Regions from separate parts of the Homo sapiens genome. Here region 2 is linked to region 1. Evidence: promoter capture Hi-C in 16 types of primary human blood cells and fetal thymus (Javierre and others, 2016). All regions are on one chromosome and are shown on one strand. The core of a region is centred on a gene start or on the middle of the fragment in contact, and the rest is flanking DNA. Distances in the headings are between cores, read along the strand shown. Region 1 holds the start of UTP25 (UTP25 small subunit processome component). Region 2 overlaps HSD11B1-AS1 (HSD11B1 antisense RNA 1).

Region 1 (3,150 bases), core at 2-2,501:
CAAAGAATTGATGTTTGAGATGATGAATATGCTAATTACCCGGATTTGATCATTACACATTGGGTACATGTATTGTTATCAAAATATCACACTGTATCCCACAAATATGTACAATCATTTTATGTAAGTTAAAAATAATTATAAAAACAGGCCAAGCGCGGTGGTTCACGCCTGTAATTCCAGCACTTTGGGAGGCCAAGGCGGGCAGATCACCCGAGGTCAGTAGTTCGAGACCACCCTAGCTAACATGGTGAAACCCCGTCTCAACTAAAAATACAAAAAATTGATCGGGTGTGATGGCGGGCGCCTGTAATCCCAGCTACACGGGAAGCTGAGGCAGGAGAATCGCTTAAGCCCGGGAGACGGAGGTTGCAGTGAGCTGAGATCGCGCCACTGCACTCCAGCCTGGGCGACAAAGCGAGACTCTGTCTTAAAAAAAAAAAATTATATATATACATATATATATGTGTGTCTACAAAAAATTCCTAGATCTCTGACCACACAAAAATCCGCCCCCATAGCTGGGCGCGGTGGCTCACGCCTGTAATCCCAGCACTTTGGGAGGCCGAGGTGGGTGGATCACCTGAGGTCAGGAGTTCAAGACCAGCCTGGCCAACATGGTGAAACCCCATCTCTACTAAAAATACAAAAAATCAGCCGGGCTTGGTGGCGGGCGCCTGTAATCCCAGCTACACGGGAGGCTGAGGCAGGAGCATCGCTTGAACCCGGGAGGAGACAGAGGTTGCAGTGAGCCAAGATCGCGCCATTGCACTCCAGCCTGGGCGACAGAGCGAAACACCGTCTTAAAAAAAAAAAAAAAATCCTCCCCCACACAACGGGCGTGCCTCTTAGCAGGAAATTACAGGCTCAACAAAAAGGCCCGTGAAGCACTCCATCTCCCGGCGGGATGGCGCCAGAATCTCCCCGGCCGAGCACAGCGGGAGCCAGGGAATAGTGGGAAAAGGCCGGAGCAGCACTATCTGGGAGACCAGAGGACCAAACTCGAGGATACATCTCTGGCGACTGGGGAGCCCTGCCACGCCCCTTCAGACCTGTCATAGAAGGGATGCTCCTCGCCGAAATCTCGAAGATGTTTCTTCTGCTTTTTAGTTAGGGTGTTGAGTAGCTGGCTCTGGCTCCGGCTCCCGCGTTTGCCCATAGCGAAAACGTCAAGTTTGCCCACTTGCAAGAGTCGCGGTTTTCCACCAGGAAGTTGTCCAGTCAACACAAGCACGTGGGCTCGCTGACTGCGCTTTACGGCGAAAGCAAGGTGCCATAAAGCAGATCCGCTTTACGTCGCGCTCGTACGACAGGCTTAGAACATCCGGTTCCCGGTTCTGCCCCCTACCGCAGCTCTTTGAAAGCACGGGAGTTCGTTCACTAGTGTTCTCAGAGCCCTAGAACGTGGGCAGCTGGGCTTCCCGGGTTGCGTGAGTCGGGGGCATGAGCTTTGTGCTTGTGTTTTGGTTATGGAAATCAGTCTGCGTAAATGTGTAGTAGCGGAGATAGTCGAATGCAGTGACTTTACAGTATACTGCAATAAAAATATCAACCAACATTTAAGGGTGCCTGAACATCTCACTTCATCACCACAACAGTGTACAGATAGGTCTTGTTAATAAGCCTGGTGTTGCAGATAAGGAAACTGATGCTTAGAAAAGATAACACGCTAGCGGCCGGGCGCGGTGGCTCACGCCTGTAATCTCAACACTTTGGGAGGCCGAGATGGGCGGATCACCTGAGGTCAGGAGTTCGAGACCAGCATGGCCAAACATGGTGAAACCCCGTCTCTACTAAAAGTACAAAAATCAGCCGGGCGTGGTAGCGGGCGCCTGTAATCCCAGCTACTCAGGAGGTGAGGCAGGAGAATCGCTGGAACCCGGGAGGTGGAGGTTGCAATGAGCCGAGATCACTCCACTGCACTCCAGCCTACTCCAGCCTGGGCGACAAAAGCTAGACTCCATCTCGAAAAAAAAAAAAAAGAAGAAAAGAAAAGAAAAGATAACACGCTAGCAAGAGAAGAGAGAAAAACCTTAACTGATGCAACCACATGCTTTTACCCATTAGGGTCTGCCGCCTGTGTGTGTTATATCAATCATGGGGCCCACAAGTCTGAGATTCCCACCCTCACCCTATTCTCGCATTTTCTGAAAGTATTGGAAGAGTCCCCGCAAACAAATCTGTTCCAGCATTCCCCATTTAACAACAGCAGAAACACATCTAGAGAGGTAAAGTGACTTTACTGAAATCACCCCAGTCAATGCTAGAAAAGGCTGTGAAACCCAATCCAGTGTCTCATAACTGAACTCGGACAAAAGGGGATGGAAAAGCTTTTGAAGGTAAAGGAACCATCTTACATTTTGATCATGCTAGTAGTTACACCTTGTATACATAAGAAAAGTTAAACTGTACAGTTAAAATGGGTGAATTTTAATGTATTTAAATAACACCTAAATAAACAGGAAAAAGCAAAAATATAAAAGTAGACTCAGTATTCTAGGGATTTGCAAGTGTGCAGGGCTGCTTGAGACCACAGGATAAAGATGGTGAGATCCTTTTCCTAATAGTAACTTATGCTACCATGTTCTATAGAAACAGAGTGCTTAAATCATAAGCCGCAGAATTCACTTGAATATTTACGGTAAAACAGGAGCGTCCAAAATGAGAGAAATGAGAAGCAAAATAATAGCTCTGCTATTGGAGTGCTACTGTGGGAAATTTGGGTTTTCCCTGATACTGTGTCACACCATAGAAGTTGTAATAAAACCATTAGAATGCGATTCTTGTCAGTTCTAGTGACCATCTACTATTCCTAATTAGATTCGGAGAGGCTGGGGTGGGGATGGGAGGACAGGGCCGGAGAATATGAGGAACACATGCAAACAGAGCGGGTGGTGCCCAGCAGCTGGGCCAGCCAAGGAACCCATAAATAGCCATTTGTCTTCTATGTAATTTCAAGATAAAAGGTACAGTCACTTAGGTCAACAAAAGCCTGTTTGCAAGATGTCATCATATATTTTAAGGTGCTGACCACAGTATAACTTGGCTATAGCAATAAAGAGCCATCCTTTTTCCCCCTCCCAACATATCCCAAGTGCCCCAGTTTCCCTCCCCAGAGGCAGCCACTTTCTTGGTGTTCTTCCAGAGATC
Region 2 (3,335 bases), core at 836-3,335, 130 kb after region 1:
TCACCCCAGTTCCTCAGAACTCACAGCTGCCAAGATCTTTTCCTGTCTATAGAAAGAACTATCATTTCATGCAATTTTGTCCAGTAACAGACTCCCTCCTCCTTCCCTTCCTCCTGTTCTCCTCCCTCATGTGTGTGTCTAACGAGGGGAGAAGTTCTCATTTGTCAATCCTTCATGTCAATCTCAATGGACAGATTTATTCTATTTTTTAGCTAACGGAATCGTGGATCTGGGAGAATGAAGTAGGCATGGGATAAATTGCCCTCTGTGTGCTTTCCTGTTACTGCCTGGCACGTGTAGCTTGTGGTAGGGGACTGAGAGGGTAGAATACCTGGAATCTATTTGCCTGGGAGAGCCAAGGGCCTTCTAGGAAAGAAGAGACCCTCACGAGGTCACGAGCATGGTCTGATCCCTGCCCCCAGTGGAGATGGAGATGCAAAGAGTTCTTTTTATAATCAAAAAAATTCTGTTGTTTTTATGTTTTAAGGGCATGATCTAAGTAGACAGTTCTAAGCATGTTGTAGTTGTAGTTTTTCAGGTTTTCTCTCTTGCCTAGCTCCTGTGGATTCACATCTGAGCATAGAAGAGAGAGGGGGCCATGTAAGAACTAAACAAAGTTATTCAATGGAAGGTCTGTTGAAACATTGGCAGCATGGGGAGCAGTGGGAGAGCCCCACACAGCTGAGAGGACTGACCTCAGCATGACCACCACAGGGCTTTGGCCCATCTTGTGTTTTTTCTTGGTTGGCCAGCCCAACTTTCAGGAAGCACGCTAGGGTGACACCACAGCCCCAGCCAGGTGGGCATCTCAAGGTTCCAGGGATGTCAGCATTAGAAGGAAGTCACTTGCCCCTGGTGGGACATAGGGTTGCCAGATTTAGCAAATAGAAATACAGAATGCCCAGTTAAATCTGAATTTCAGATAAATGACAAATACAGTTAAATCTGAATTTCAGATAAATGACAAATAGTTATTTTAAGGATGCCTGTCTGTCTGTCCTTCCTATCTATCTATCTATCTATCTATCTATCTATCTATCTATCTATCTATCTAATCTATCTATCTTATCTACCTATCCTCTATCTAAGCTGTCTACCTATCAAGATGGGATAAACTGTTGAAAGAAATATTCCTAAACTATTGAAGGAAAGATGTCTTGAAAGGAACATACTTACACTAAAACATGATTCAAGCCAGGTTTGGTGGCTCTTGGCTGTAATCCCAGCCACTGGGGAGGCCAAAGAGAGGATCACTTGTGGCTAGGAGTTTGAGATCAGCTTGGGAAACATAGCAAGACCCTCATCTCAAAAAAAAAAAAAAAAAAAAAAAAAAAAAAGGAAAAAACAAAACCATTAATCATTCATTGTTTATCTGAAATTTGGATTTAACTGGGTGAACTGTGTTTAATTTGAAAAGCTTAGAAGTGGCAGTGGGCTTTAAGAACCTGAGAAATGGTCTCAGGTGTGGACAAAACATTCTGGACCATGCCTACTGATAGCCATCTGGTCTACCTTTACCAAAGTGGAGCCCAGCATCCTGGCCACAAACAGCCCAAAAAGGCAAAAGAGGTACATACCACATGGTAGCTGGGTGGAGGAATCATCTACTAACATTTATTTAGTTAGGTATTTACTGTTGGTCAGGTACTATGAATAAAAACACCATTGAAATGCTCTCCATGCCCTAGAAGAAGAAGACGTGGAAATAAATGAAATGTGTAAGACATTACCAGTGCGCTAATGGAAGTCTACAGTAGGGGCATAATGAAGGGAGTAGCCCATTCTACATGTGGGACGGGCCAGCAGGAGCTGCTTCCAGGAAGTTGTTCATTTTGATCCATGTTGAAATATGAGCAGGAATGTTCCAGGAAATGAAGAATGATAACAGTGAGCATTGAGTTGGGTTCAGGAGTGTGTGGGGAGAGGGGAGGGCTAGTTTGTAGAACATTCTTTGCACAGGAAGCTGTGTGGGAAAATAGAAAGAGGTGTGAAAGAGAAAGTCATGTTTGGGAAACTATGAACAGTTCCATGTGGCTGGATAACTGAATTTTACAAGGTGGGGTTACACAGTAAGAAGCCTGGAGAGGCAAGCAGAGGCACATCTTTGAGGGCCATGAATGCCCACTGTTGGAGTCTGTAGTTCTGGCCATTTGTTCTCAAGTCATGAAGGCTTTGCCCTCTGTGGCTTCTTCATCCCCATCCCAGAACTCTATCCCCTGGCTCTTTGTATCCCCTCATTGCCTTATGCAAAAAATTCTGAATCTTCTGCACTCTTTCAGCTCTTCAATCCAGCTTCACACCCTCCATCAGCACTTCACTCTTCCTGCCAGGCTGTGCTGGGTATGGCCTTGACCCTGAGGGCTTGCAGCCCCTGGAGCTATGCCCAGCAATGTTATTGGGCTGCCCTATAACCAGCTGGATTTTTCTACCATGCTTTTTTTCTCTTTGATCCTTCTCATTAAGTATCACTTGCCACTTTAACCTCCCCAAATATCCTCCTCCCTTGGCTTCTGTCAATTCATAGTCACCAGGCTTTTCTTTCTGTTTCTCTCACTGCTTCTCAGTTTTCTTTATAGGCTTATCTTTTCTTCTGGATTCCTTGAATGTTGGAGTTGGCCTTGATTCGGTTCTCATTTTTTGTCTGTATTCCCTGCGTAATTCCCTTCTCTCTCATGGTTATAATTACAACCTTTGTGTTGATGGATGAGTCTTAAAAGTCTCTATTTCCTGTGCAGCAATTTCTCCTAAGCTTCAGGTAGTATAACCACCTGCTTACCCAAACCCTCTCCTTCTGAGGGCCTCCTAAACATCTCAAATTCATCATGCTGAAACTGACATGATTATTTTTTAACGGCTTTATTGCAGTGCAATTTATATACTAGCAAATTATCTCATTTTAAGTGTACAATTCAATGATTTTGAATAAATTTGCAGAGTTGAGAAATCATTACTGCAATCTAATTTAGAACATTTCCATCTCCCAAAAAGATTTCTTGTGCCCATTTACAGTCACTCCCTGTTTCCACCCCCAGCCCCAGGCAACCAGTAATTTTATTTCCATGTATAGACTTGCCTGCCCTGGACATTTTATATTAGTAGAACTACACAACGTGTAATCTTTTGTCTGACTTCTTTCACTTAACATGTTTTTGAGATTCTTCCGTATTGTAACATGTGTCATTTATTGACAAATCATATTCCATTGTATGGATGTACCACATTTTGTTGATCCATTCACCAGTTCACAGACATTTGGAATTTTCCCCTGTTTTTTGCTATTATGGACAGTGCTGCAATGAACATTGGTATGAAAATTTTTGTGTGAACGTATGTTT

What was found. The method cuts DNA at HindIII sites, captures the fragments that hold promoters and counts their contacts. A CHiCAGO score of 5 or more calls a contact.
Region 2: a contact is called between a fragment that was not itself captured here and the fragment with the promoter of UTP25 in region 1, in 5 of 17 cell types (neutrophils, non-activated CD4 T cells, activated CD4 T cells and 2 more). The highest score is 13.8, in neutrophils.

Annotation. Positions count from the first base shown.
Region 1 is chr1:209,826,073-209,829,222 of GRCh38, reverse strand. UTP25 (UTP25 small subunit processome component) reads right to left here and starts at 1,251. Exons shown (of 12, transcript NM_014388.7): 1 at 1,053-1,251. The coding sequence starts at 1,159. RefSeq lists an enhancer at 1,162-1,211. The HindIII fragment of the contact is 3,327 bases long and covers 1-2,332 here.
Region 2 is chr1:209,695,887-209,699,221 of GRCh38, reverse strand. All of the region lies in intron 1 of HSD11B1-AS1 (HSD11B1 antisense RNA 1), which reads left to right. It also overlaps a transcript of HSD11B1 not described here. Among named protein-coding and RNA genes, the nearest start is that of HSD11B1, 7.3 kb to the left of the region's middle. The HindIII fragment of the contact is 1,332 bases long and covers 1,420-2,751 here.